3 separate regions of the Homo sapiens genome follow, and regions 1 and 2 are each linked to region 3. Evidence: promoter capture Hi-C in human tissues and cell types (Jung and others, 2019). All regions are on one chromosome and are shown on one strand. The core of a region is centred on a gene start or on the middle of the fragment in contact, and the rest is flanking DNA. Distances in the headings are between cores, read along the strand shown.

What was found. Contacts are between HindIII fragments. The study calls those that stand out against the background at their distance.
Region 1: a fragment that was not itself captured here is called in contact with the fragment with the promoter of PKDREJ in region 3 in 1 of the 25 tissues and cell types used here (H1 embryonic stem cells).
Region 2: a fragment that was not itself captured here is called in contact with the fragment with the promoter of PKDREJ in region 3 in 4 of the 25 tissues and cell types used here (IMR-90 fibroblasts, bladder, liver and 1 more).

What each region holds. Positions count from the first base shown.
Region 1 is chr22:46,313,506-46,318,186 of GRCh38, reverse strand. GTSE1 (G2 and S-phase expressed 1) reads right to left here. Exons shown (of 12, transcript NM_016426.7): 6 at 4,174-4,297; 7 at 1,775-2,155. Among named protein-coding and RNA genes, the nearest start is that of GTSE1, 19 kb to the right of the region's middle. The HindIII fragment of the contact is 7,099 bases long and covers 1-4,681 here.
Region 2 is chr22:46,224,989-46,229,107 of GRCh38, reverse strand. All of the region lies in intron 7 of PPARA (peroxisome proliferator activated receptor alpha), which reads right to left. Among named protein-coding and RNA genes, the nearest start is that of CDPF1, 23 kb to the left of the region's middle. The HindIII fragment of the contact is 6,822 bases long and covers 1-4,119 here.
Region 3 is chr22:46,260,287-46,264,724 of GRCh38, reverse strand. PKDREJ (polycystin family receptor for egg jelly) reads left to right here and starts at 1,382. Exons shown (of 1, transcript NM_006071.2): 1 at 1,382-4,438. The coding sequence starts at 1,403. The HindIII fragment of the contact is 11,288 bases long and covers 1-4,438 here.

The DNA of each region.
Region 1 (4,681 bases), core at 1,284-3,783, 52 kb before region 3:
CAATTGTTCAAGAAATTCATGAAAACTTTACAAACACCCACCCACTAATGGCCAGACACCTGCTGGGGCCAGTGGCCTCACTGACTGGAGAAGGCAGTGGCTGGAGCTCAGGAGGCTGAGGTGGCTGCAATCTGAGGGCCAGAAACTAGAGAGGAGGGGGCTACTCCGACAGAACGAGCTCTAGGAACCCAAGGGAATCTCGAGTCTCTGGCTGAGCACCAGGCAGTGCACAGGTGCAGGGCAGGAGTCCTCAAGGTCAAGAGAAGAGCAACTACCAGGGAGCAACGAGCGGAGCTCACAGGGCCGAGAAACCGCCGTCTTACCAGGGAGCAACGAGCGGAGCTCACAGGGCCGAGAAGGTGTCATCTTGCAGCAGCAGGAGTGCAGGGGTCTCGCGGGCCTTGCGGGACACACGGGTGTGCAGCAGAGGCCTTGGGAAGGACGCCGGTGGCGGGAGGCGGAAAGGCTATGCTAGACCCACCACTTCAAAGCATAAAAAGCCTCGGAAGGATGATCTGCACCTTAACTGCCTGCCAAGCCCAACCCAACTCCTCAGAGAAAGACAACAAAATCCAGACATTCAAAAGTGTACACCTGACAATATCCAACAACCAAGAAAAACTTGTGAAAAATGTAGAGGCAGGAAAATGAGGCCAAAACCCGGAAACAAAATTAGTCAGTCGAAACAGACCCCAAAATGATGGGGAAGATGGTATGAGAAGAATCGTAGACCCTAAAACCATTATCAATTTGCTCACGAGGATGTAAAAGAAAACCCAAGTACCATGAGAAGAAATAAGGGGAAACTATTATGTTAGAAACAAAGTTAACTGGATGGGCTTCACAGCTGTTAGGCACTGCAGAAGAAATGATATCTGACAACAGAAACTACCCAAACTGTAGCTCAAGGAAAAAGGCTGGGCCGGGCACGGTGGCTCACACCTATAATCCCAGCAGTTTGAGAGGCCGAGATGGGTGGGTCACTTGAGGTCAGGAGTTCCAGACCAGCCTGGCCAACATGGCGAAACCCCGTCTCTACCAAAAATACAAAAAAAAAATTAGCCGGGTGTGGTGGTGGGCACCTGTAATCCCAGCTACTCGGGAGGCTGAGGCAGGAGAATTGCTTGAACTCGGTAGGTGGAGGTTACAGTGCGCTGAGATCGCGCCACTGCATTCCACCCTGGGTGACAGAGCGAGACTCCGTCTCAAAAAACAAAAAACAAAAAAAAAGAAAGAAAGAAAAGAAAAAAGATAAGAAAAAGAAAAAAGGCTGAAATAAAAAAAAGAACAGAGCTTCGGTGTCCTGTGAGACAACGTCAAGAGGCCTGAAATAGATGTGATTAGAGTCCTAGGAAATAAAGTGGAAAGAGGAAAAGATAGCTGAAGAAATAATGGCCAACGTTTTCCAAATTTGCTGAAAAAAACCAACCCACAGATCAAAGAAGCTTAAGAAACCCTCAGCGGGATAAAGGCAAAGAAAGCCACCTCAAAGCACATAATAATCAAATTCCCGACAGTAACACTAAAGAGAAAACCTTACAAGCAGCCTACGAGCATTGGGGTGTCACACACACAGGAACGAACGTAAGACATTCAGGGAGCCTCCAGTGACCCCCCAAAACAACGTGGGCGAGAAGACAGCGGGTCACACCTGAAAGCACTGTTGGAGGAAAGAACTAAAAACACCATCAATGCCATCAATAATTGTTTAAAACTTTAAATGCAATTTCTTCAGTATTTTTTAAAGACACATTAAAATGTATCTATTACTCACCAATAGAAAACTTAGGAATTTTAAATTGATTTGTAGGAGTAGGCATAACCTTTGTCTTGGAATTTAGACAGGAATCTCGCCGTCTGATACTTCTAGTCTTATTCAATTGAGAAGATTCTGACCAAGCGCAACTGGAGTTCAGCCACTGGCCGCCACCTTCCGGAGTCTGGGGTTGGGTGGGGGATGCTGAGGGGGGTGCCGTGAGCTGCTCCGCTGCCAGCTCAGAAACATCGACCCGCTTGGCCTGCCAGGAGGATGCCCCCACAGGGCCTGCAGGCAGAGCTGGCCGCAGCATGGCGGGTCCCATTCTGCCTGACTTGCTGATGTTTGACAGAGGCCGGGAGCTATTTGCAGGAATACTTGCAAATTCACTTGATTTAGCTAGAAGGTATACACACAAAAATCACATTATTATAAAAGTATGAAGCTATTTAACAAACACACAGAAGTTATGCTGTCTTTAGCATATCTACCTTAAACATAAGACACATTAACAATATTCTATAAGCCCTTCAGGCAACATCATCAAACACAGGATGGCTCAGGCAGCTTTTAGCTTAGCTGAGTGTATTCTAAGGTACTTATTCTCAAAATAATTACTAACATGTACATAAGCATGCATAAATTCAAGCTCTCCTATCTTCGTTGATTATGTTGGCAGGAGAAATCTACATTAGTTGAGCAGATGGAAGGGGATAGTCTAGTCACATGTCTCACCTGTCTGGTCACAGAGGTGGGCAGGGAACAAGGAAAAAAGACGCAATTGTTACTGGTTGATTCCTTTAAAATTACAAGGAGGCTGCGTCATATTAACCATAAGCACTATTTAAAATAGAAGACCAGATAAACTAGGGTAATACATACTGAGCTACCAATATACGCAGACGATCTGGTAAAGGATTCTTAAAGAAAAACTTTAGCCCAGGAGTGGTGGCTCACGCCTGTAATCCAAACACTTTGGGAGGCCAAGGCAAGAGATCACTCAAGGCCAGGAGTTCGAGACCAGCCTGGCTAATATAGTGAGACCATCCTCTCTACAAAAAACACAAAAATGTGGGCCAGGCGCAGTGGCTCGTGCCTGTAATCCTAGCACTTTGGGAGGCCAAGGCGGGCGGATCACGAGGTCAAGAGATCGAGACCATCCTAGCCAACATGGTGAAACCCCGTCACTACTAAAAATACAAAAATTAGCCGGGCGTGGTGGCAGGTGCCTGTAGTCCCAGCTACTTGGGAGGCTGAGGCAGGAGAATCACTCGAACCCGGGAGGCAGAGGTTGTAGTGAGCCAAGATTGCGCCACTGCACTCCAACCTGGCAATAGAGTGAGACTCCATCTCAAAAAAAAAAAACCCACAAAAATTAGCCGGGTGTGGTGGCATGTGCCTGTAGTCCCAGCTACTCAGGAGGCTGAGGTGGGAGGATTGCTTGATCTCAGGAGGTCATCACCTCAGTCTATAAAGATAAGGACACAAACCTCTCTTAATCACAGAATGGCAGAGTCAGAATTCCAGATCAGATCAATCTGATTAGAGAGTTCACACTTATCATTTTTTTTTTTTTTTTTGAGACGGAGTGCAGTGATGCAATCTCGGCTCATGGTAACCTCTGCCTCCCGCGTTCAAGCCATTCTCGTGGCCCAGTCTCCCGAGTAGCTGGGACTACAGGCACCCGCCACCATGCCCGGCTAGTTTTTGTGTTTTTAGTAGAGACAGGGTTTCACCATGTTGGCCAGGCTGGTCTCAAACTCCAGGGGTCAAGCGATCCACCCATCTTGGCCTGCCAAAGTGCTGGGATCACAGGCGTGAGCCCCTGCGCCCGGCCCACTTTTTACATTTTGTGAACACAATCCACACCATGCTGCCCTGAACGACCCCGAGACGCCACATGGCCAATGCACCTCGAAGAGGATTTCGCTCTGAAGAGCAGAAAGGCGAAGGCTTTCCCTTACCACTAGATGGCAGCTGTGGCTTGGCAAGGTTGAAATGTGGCTTGACCTCAAACAGGTGTGGGAGCATGGATTTAAACAGGCACCCAGGAGTTATGGGGCCATATGCCCTACATTATCTGGAATAGTCCTATTTTAAAACTGGTGTCTCATGACATGGACATGAGGGTGATTCCAGTGTCCATGTTCTCAGGCACGGGGTATCATACATGCTTTCTGGCCATGTGTACCCCGTAGACTGAAGCCACCCATCTGAGTGTGCCCTCCTCATGGGACAGAGGCACTGAGGGCAGGTACAGCAACTCAGTCCACAGCCTGGTCCACCGCACACAGCACGCCCTCCGGGACGTCCTGCCAAGCCTAAGTGGTTCTGCAGAAACAGTCTCCAAGGCCTGAGCAGCACTCCAGGCCTCACCTGGCCAGATGTGGGTCCAAGCATGATGCCGGCTGCCTCACCTTTGCCCACTGCTGGGGATGTGCACGCACTGGATGCCCCGCTCCAAACAGGCCCCGAGGAGGACTTCCTTGCGAGATTGCTGGTAGAGCCGGGTGCTTTTAACAGGGTCTTCTTCAGCCCCAACTGGGGCAAAATGTGAAAAAACAGAATCAGCAAAGATCTCGTTATTTACCTATTACTTGTGTCTGCAAAAGTAAGGGGTTTTTGGCTGGGCACGGTGGCTCACGCCTGTAATCCCAGCACTTTGGGAGGCTGAGGCCGGAGGATCACAAGGTCAGGAGTTTGAGACCAGCCTGGCCAATATGGTGAAACCTTGTCTCTACTAAAAATATAAAAACTAGCTGGGCATGGTGGCAGGCACCTGTAGTCCCAGCTACTCGGGAGGCTGAGGTAGGAGAATTGCTTGAACCCGGGAGGTGGAGGTTGTAGTGAGCTGAGCTCGTGCCATTGCACTCCAGCCTGGGCGACAGAGTGAGACTCCGTCTCAACAACAACAACAACAACAAA
Region 2 (4,119 bases), core at 4-2,503, 35 kb after region 3:
TGAGATGGAGTCTCGCTCTGTTGCCCAGGCTGGAGTGCAGTGGCGTGATCTTGGCTCACAGCAAGCTCCGCCTCCCGGGTTCATGCCATTCTCCTGCCTCAGCCTCCCCAGTAGCTGGGACTACAGGCGCCCGCCACCATGCCCAGCTCATTTTTTTTTGTATTTTTAGTAGAGACGGGGTTTCACCGTGTTAGCCAGGATGGTCTCGATCTCCTGACCTCGTGATCCGCCCACCTCAGCCTCCCAAAGTGCTGGGATTACAGGCGTGAGCCACCACGCCCAGCCAATAATTTTTTTAAAAAATGAGTTCTGTTTTAAAAAAATAAGAAACACTGAGTTGAATGAAGTTGGGCCTCCCTAGCTGAGTCTTTAACATGATAAATGTGCAGTCTTCCAGAATGAGAATGAGGCTAGGATAAGCAGGGGTTCCTACAGTGTTTGATTACAGAATGCTTGGTGTTATTTATTGTTTTTTGGTAGAGCATCTCCCAGGACAAATGCAGGCCTGGCTACGTAATTTACAGGACCCAGAGCAAAAATGCAAATGTGGGACCCCTTGGTTTTTCTTTTTTGAGACGGAGTCTCGCTCTGTTGCCCAGGCTGGAGTGCAGTGGCGTGATCTCGACTCACTGCAACCTCCACCTCCCAGGTTTGAGTGATTCTCCTGCCTCAGCCTCCTGAGTAGCTGGGATTACAGGCACCCACCAACCACGCCTGGTTAATTTCTGTATTTTTAGTAGAGATGGGGTTTCACCATGTTGGTCAGGCTGGTCTCAAACTCCCGACCTCAGGTGATCCACCCGCTTCAGCCTCCCAGAGTGTTGGGATTACAGGCGTGAGCCACCACACACTGCGGGACCCCTTGTTCAAAGATGATTATGAATTTCAAGAAGGCAACAGCGGAGCATGAACACCCAAGCCTGGGCCTTTCTAGGCTGGGGGCATCGTTAAACAGCTTGCATGCCCCTGAGGCTCACCGTGGACTAGTTCTATGGGGATGTACTCTCGTAAATGAGGACTTCTGTGGTAACAAATATCTCATTTCATTTTTATAAAATTATCACTTTGGTTTTAGAAAGTGGGCCTCATTTAGCAGGGAGAACTGGAGACCACTGAATTCAAAATGAGTGGTACCATGAAGAAACCAATGTTTATTAAAGCTAAAGAGAAATGCTGTTGAAAAACACACTTGCAAATTCGCTAAACTTTATGGATAAACATTCTTGGTGAGATCATTTTACAAAAAAATCTATGCAGCAGCTTATATTTAACTTTGGAATATGCCTTTTATACTCAAGCTTGACTATGAATATATCTGACACGACAGGCAGTCATTTCAAATAAATGAAATAAAGCACATTATAAAGGTTTTAAACAGCGTGAGGCAGGAAGCTGCCTAGATTTTCCCCAATCACTCCATGCCGAGAGCAGAACGCCCCGCTTGCTGCCACACTGGTCCCGGCACACACTCATGTGGCCTACGAAGCTCAATGATATCACTCATGAGAATTCATCTCTGTTAGCAGCTGTCATCTTTTTGCAAAAAATTAAATGTGGACCAGGCGCAGTAGCTCATGCCCGCAATGCCAGCACTTTGGGAGGCCAAGGTAGGTGGATGACCTGAGGTCAGGATTTCGAGACCAGCCCGGCCAACATGGCAAAAGCCCGTGTCTACTAAAAATACAAAAATTAGTCGGGTGTGGTGGCTGGCACCTGTAATCCCAGCTACTTAGGAGGCTGAGGCAGGAGAATCGCTTGAACCCAGGAGGGGGAGGTTGCAGTGAGCTGAGATTGCGCCACTGCACTCCAGCCTGGGCAAGAGAGTGAGACTCAGTCTCAAAAATAAATAAATAAATAAAAAATAAATGTGAAGCACTGGTAGAACTGCTTTGGATGAAATTATTTAATAAGCTCTCTTGGTTATGTTTTACTATACATTTGTAGAAATGGCATAAAATATGAAGCACATTTTTTAATCTAAAGAAAACTTAAGTAGTAGGTATAATATTGGACTGTCACACGGCAGGCAACACCCCAAGACATGGTATAAGGTCATAGCTGTTGAAAGGAGCAGTCCTGTTATAACACGGCACCCTGGAGGTCACCCTTATGCCCAGGCTTCTGAAATGTTAAGAATAATGTTGGAATTCCTCTTTCAAAACTGGTCTTAAAAACCATGTTCAGCTGCATGTCACAAATTAGTCTCCTTGCTCAACTTTTTTTTTCTTTTTTCTGTTTTCTTTTTTTGAGACGGGGTCTTGCTGTGTCACCCAGGCTGGAGTACAGTGGCGCAACCACAGTCCACTGCAGTCTTGACCTCCATCCTCCTGCCTCGGCCTCCTGAGCGGCTGGAACCACAGGCGCACACCACCATGCCCAGCTAACTTTTCATAGAGGAGGTCTCACTATGTTGCCCAAGCCGGCCTTTCTTATTTTTTTAAACAAGACGTTTTACTCTGTTTAATCCCAACTTGCATGCCAGTCTAGCTACAATGGACTCATGGTTTGTCTAAAATTCAGTTCTATTCTCAGAGGGTAAAATCTTCCATAACTGAAGCTATTCAAAGACTTTAAGATAATCCCCAACAATTTGGAGCAATAGGAGAATCTTTGAAAAAATAACACGGCACGCCCAATTCCTACTTTCTTCATTTGAACTGAGTGTCAGTTCTGATATGTTTGTTAGATTAAAAAGTAGCAGGACAACGTTATTATCACCTTATAGTTTGAATTTCTAAAGTCCACATATTCAGTGCTAAAGAATTATTTGGTTGTTTAACTGAACACCACACTCATTTTTTGGAAGGTGCAGTTTGCTTCTTAAGCCCAAAGCAGCTAAGCCTGAGCAACAGTAAGTGTGTGTGTGAGCATGTGTGTGCACGTGTGTGTGAGCATATGTGCACACATGTGAGTGTGGGTATGCGTGTGAGCATGTGTATATATATATATGTGTGCATGCTTGTATATGTGTGGGTACGTGTGTGGGTACATGTGTGCATAAGGTGAGGGTATGTGTGTGCATATACATGCATGTGAGCATGTATAAGCACATGTGTAGTTTGTAAGTGTGTGTGTGTATGCATCTGTGTGAATGCATGTGTTTGTATGTGTGTGTATGCATGTGTGTGACTGTATGGGTGAATGTGGATTTGTGTGTGCCTGGGTGCATGTGTGTGAGCATGCATGTGTGTGTGTACACACAGGTGTGGGTACATGTGTGAGTGTGCGTGTATCCATGTGTGGGTGCATGTGTGTGTGTGCGTGTGTGGGGGTGGAGGTGCGTCTGTGTGCATGTGTGGGTGCACGTGTATGTGTGGGGGTGTGTGTGTTTACACGTGCATGCATGGATGTGTGAGTGTGTACCCATGTGAGCATGGATGCTTGTGTGCGTGTGGGTGCATGTGTGTGTCCATGTGCATGTATGGGGGTGGAGGTGCATCTGTGTACACGTGTGGGTGCATGTGTATGTGTGGGTGTGTTTGTGTACACATGCATGCATGGATGTGTGACTGTGGGTGCATGTGTGTGAGCATGCATGTGGGTGCACGTGTATGTGTGTGTACCCGTGTGTGCACGGATGTGTGAGTGTGGGTATGTGCGTGCATTTGTGCATGAGCGTGCATCACACAGAAGGCACTGACTCTGCCCAAGCCCCTCAGTCTCATTTTCTGTTGCTTCCTCCAAAGTCTTCTGACGACATTCTCAACCCCTGACAGGTCAACATCTTATGTTTTTAGACACTGTTGAAAAGCACCCATTTTTATTGCCTCCCTCAGCCCCCTGACTCTGCTTCCATCCCTGTTACCCTCAAATCAAGGGGCAGTGAGTTCCCCAGAGGCGCCCTTCCCCATCACCAAGGGCCCTGACCATTTTCTGGCCCACGGTTCTGAAATCTCAGGGGCTCAAACAGTCCCAGTGTCCAGATGGACACAGACATTCTCCATCCACCCCTCACTCCTTCCCTCAGCTAAAGCCCACCTTTCCTCAAGCAATGGCATCTATGCGGCTCCATGCAGCGGCCTCCCCCTGCCCCCACAGCCTCCTCCGTGCACCCTGGCCGGTTCCAACCCCGACCCAAGCCTCCTGGCTGATTCTAGGCCTCCCACAACTCCCCCACCG
Region 3 (4,438 bases), core at 133-2,632:
TTGATTTTACAGGCTCATAAGCATAAGCGACTTCCTTTGTCTCAGACAGGACTTTGGACTGTGGACTTTTGAGTTAATGTGAAATGAGTTAAGACTTTGGAGGACTGTTGGGAAGGCATGATTGGTTTTGAAATGTGAGGAGATGAGATTTGGCAGGGGTGGAATGATATAGTTTGGCTCTGTGTCCCCACCCAAATCTCATCTTATAGTCCCATAATTCCCACATGTTGTGGGAGGGACCGGGTGGGAGATAACTGAATCACAGGGGCAGTTTCCCCCATATTGTTCTGTGGTAGTGAATAAGTCTCAGGAGATCTGATGCTTTTATCAGGGGTTTCCGCTTTTGCGTCTTCCTCATTTTCTCTTGCCACTGCCATGCAAGAAGTGCTTTTTGCCTCCTGCCATGATTCTGAGGCCTCCCCAGCCATATGGAACTGTAAGTCCAATTAAACCTCTTTTTCTTCCCAGTCTTGGTTATGTCTTTATCAGCAGCATGAAAACGGACTAATACAGGGGAGGGCCAATTAAGACCACGAGTTTGAGACCAGCCTGTGAAACACAGCAAGACACCATCTCTACAAAAATAAAAAATAAATCAGTCAGGTGTAGTGGTGTAGACCTGTAGTATGGGAGGCTGAGGCAGGAGGATTCCTTGAGCCCAGGAGTTCAAGGTTACAGTCAGCTATGATTGCACCATTGCACTCCAGCCTGGGCAACAGAGCAAGACCCTGTCTCTAAAATCATTCAATCCATCAATCAAGTCCCAAAATATACAGCAAAAATGGACAGAGTTAAAGAATGAGGCCAGGCACAGTGGCTCATGCCTGTAATCCCAGCACTTTGGGAGGCCGAGGTGGGTGGATCACTTGAGGTCAAGCCATTGCACTCCAGCCTGGGTGACAGAGACTCCGTCTCAAAAAACAAACAAACAAACAAACAAACAAAAAACAAAACCCCCAAACCAACTAGAAAGAAAAGAGCAAAGCGACCCCAAAGTAAGAAACCGAGAGTCAGACCTTCCTGGGCGCCCAGGGATCTCACGGTTCCCTCCTGATCTCCCATTTTGTGACTGGCTTTCCCAAGGGTTCCTGCTGAAGCCCCTTCTCCGTGGTCAGCTCTGTGGTCTGCACGGGGCTGAACTGCCCTCCTGAGCCATCCTGACCCTGGGCCTGCACACACTTGGGGACGGAGAGGGAAGAGGTACCCAAGAAGTCCCCAGTGCCGACTGACCCCAAGCTCCGAGGTCCCAGCTGCTCTCTGGGACTCTGTCCCTGGGACCCCTCTGCCAGCGCCCTTCGACGCCCGAGACCCCCACTGTCCCCAAGACCCTCACTATCCCCGCGACCCCGGTGGCGGTTGGGCGCGCCTCGCGGCCTCTCCCAGCTTCTCCTGGGCCGGCGCCATGAGGCCTGGGCCCGCTCTCCTCCTTCTGGGCGTGGGCCTGAGCCTGAGCGTCGGCCGCCTCCCGCTGCCGCCGGTTCCTCGCGGGGCACAAGCCGCCGTCTCCGGGGCGCCCGGTGGCCTCCTCAGGGGCGCCCCGGGCCTCGGGGTGCGCGGCGGCCGCGCCCTCCTCAGTCTGCGGCCCAGCGCGGTGCGGGCGGGCGGCGCTGTCCTGAGCGGCCGCGGCAGCCTCTGCTTCCCCCATGGCGGGACCGGGCGGCGCTGGTACTGCCTCGACTTGCGCGTCCTGCTCAGCGCCCAACGCCTGCCCTGGCCGGCCGCGCCCGCGCTCGCGCTCGTCGACCTGCAGCTCTCCGCGCGCGGCGGCCGCCTCTCCCTGACGTGGTCCGTGCGGCTGCCGCGCTCGCCCGGGCGCCTGGCCTGGGCCTTCCGCCTGCGGCTGCTCGGACCCGGCGCCGCCCGCCCGGCCTCCCCCGCGGCCCGCGTCTCCCCGCGCTCCGCCGCGCCAGGCCCGCGGCCCCAGCAGGGCTTCGTGGCCCGCACCGAGTGCCCCACAGACGGCCCCGCGCGCGTGATGTTGCAGGCCGTCAACTCGTCCAGCCACAGAGCCGTCGAGTCGTCCGTGTCCTGTCAGATAAACGCCTGCGTCATCCAGCGCGTGAGGATCAACACGGACCAGAAGGGCGCCCCCGTGCGCCTGAGCATGCAGGCGGAGGCCACCATCAACGCCTCGGTGCAGCTGGACTGCCCGGCCGCGCGCGCCATCGCCCAGTACTGGCAGGTGTTCTCCGTGCCCGCCGTGGGTCAGGCGCCCGACTGGACGCAGCCCTTGGATCTGCCCCAGCTCGAGATCAGGAACAGCCCCTTGTTCATTCACATCCCCAATAATTCGTTACAGTGGGGAGTGTATGTGTTTAATTTCACGGTGTCCATCACCACAGGGAACCCCAAGATGCCCGAGGTGAAAGACTCGGACGCCGTCTATGTCTGGATCGTCAGGAGTTCCCTGCAGGCGGTGATGCTTGGCGATGCCAACATAACAGCTAATTTCACAGAGCAGCTGATTCTGGACGGGTCCACGTCCTCGGACCCAGATGCGGACAGCCCGTTACAGGGACTCCAGTTCTTTTGGTACTGTACCACAGATCCCAGAAACTACGGTGGGGATCGAATAATCCTGGGGAGCAAGGAAGTCTGTCACCCCGAGCAGGCCAATCTGAAATGGCCCTGGGCCTCGGGCCCTGTACTGACACTTTTGCCAGAAACACTTAAAGGCGACCACGTGTATTTCTTCAGAATGGTGATTCGGAAGGACTCTAGGACAGCGTTTTCTGATAAGAGGGTCCACGTGCTCCAAGGACCAAAAGCCATAGCACACATCACATGTATCGAAAATTGTGAGAGAAACTTCATTGTCTCTGATAGATTTTCTTTGTTCCTAAATTGCACAAATTGTGCAAGCCGTGATTTCTATAAATGGTCAATTTTGTCTTCTTCAGGTGGTGAGATGCTATTTGATTGGATGGGGGAAACTGTAACAGGAAGGAATGGTGCTTATCTGTCTATAAAAGCTTTTGCTTTTCGGCATTTTTTGGAAGCTGAGTTTTCGATTTCTCTGTATCTAGCATGTTGGAGTGGAGTGACCTCGGTCTTCAGGCATTCTTTTATTATTAACCATGGCCCTCAGATCGGAGAATGCAAAATTAATCCAGCTAAAGGAATTGCACTTATTACTAAATTTGTTGTCCAGTGTAGTAATTTTAGGGATAAGCACGTCCCTCTTACATATAAAATAATTGTTTCTGATTTGCACAGTGTTGGTGAAATCAGTTCAGTAAAAGAGAACACCCTGGGGACCATCCTGTACTTGGGGCCTCAGTCCACAGTACCCCCTTCCTTTCTCCCTGTTGGTATGTTGGCTAGTCAATATGGCTTGAAGATATATGCCCAGGTCTATGATTCTCTAGGAGCTTTTTCTCAGGTGACTTTGCATGCCACCGCACAGGCTCCCACTGACAAAAATTCATCAAAGACAGTGTTGAATCAGTTACTCAGTTTCACCGTGGGACCAAGTTCATTGCTGTCTACTTTGATTCAAAAGAAGGATTTTTTACCTGCAGGTTACTTACTGTATATAGTAGCTTCCGTTTTGAATAACATGAAAACTGAATTACCTCTCCGAGATGACAGAGTCAATCTCCGAAAACACCTCATCGATCAGTCTTTCCTTCTTCCTGTAAGCACTTTGGTAGAAATTGGCCAGGTAGTCATGACTATTACCAAATTAACCCAGAAACCCTCTGAATTCACTTGGGATGCTCAGAAACGTGCCACCATGAGGGTATGGCAAGCAAATCAAGCCCTACAAGAGTATCAGCAAAAAGATAAACGCTTTCGATCTGAACAAATAGAAATCGTGAGTACTGGAATACTAATGAGTTTGTCTAATATTCTTAAAATGACTTCTCCTCACCAAGTAGTTAAAGATCCTTTCTATGTAATAGAATCTCTATCAGACACAATACTGGCTAATAAAGTGCCAGGGAACAAAACCACCTCAATGAGAACCCCCAATTTCAACATGTATGTCAAGAAAGTTGAAAAGTGGGGTATCAACCAGCTCTTCAGAAATGAGAAACACTGCAGAAATTGTTTTTATCCAACACTCAATGTGAGCAGTGTTCCTGGTCTGTCTGCAAATGGTCCCATTTCTACAATGTTTTGTGATTTCACAAATGACCTCTTTCCTTGGTTAAATGATCAGGAAAACACTTCGGTGGAGGTGTCTGGATTCAGAATGACAGGAGTTGCAGATAACGGTAGTGTGCTAGAGATCACACCTGATGTAGCGGAAGTGTACCTTGTCAGGAAAAACTTGACCTTTGCAGCTTTTAATCTCACAGTGGGACCCAACAGCGAGGTTGATGGGTCCTTGAAGAAGACGACAGGTGGGTTTAGCTTTCAAGTGGACAGCACAGTGCTTAGGGAGGTTCTGGTCCACATAGTAACAGAAGTGATGGTGCTGTTCACAGTGTTG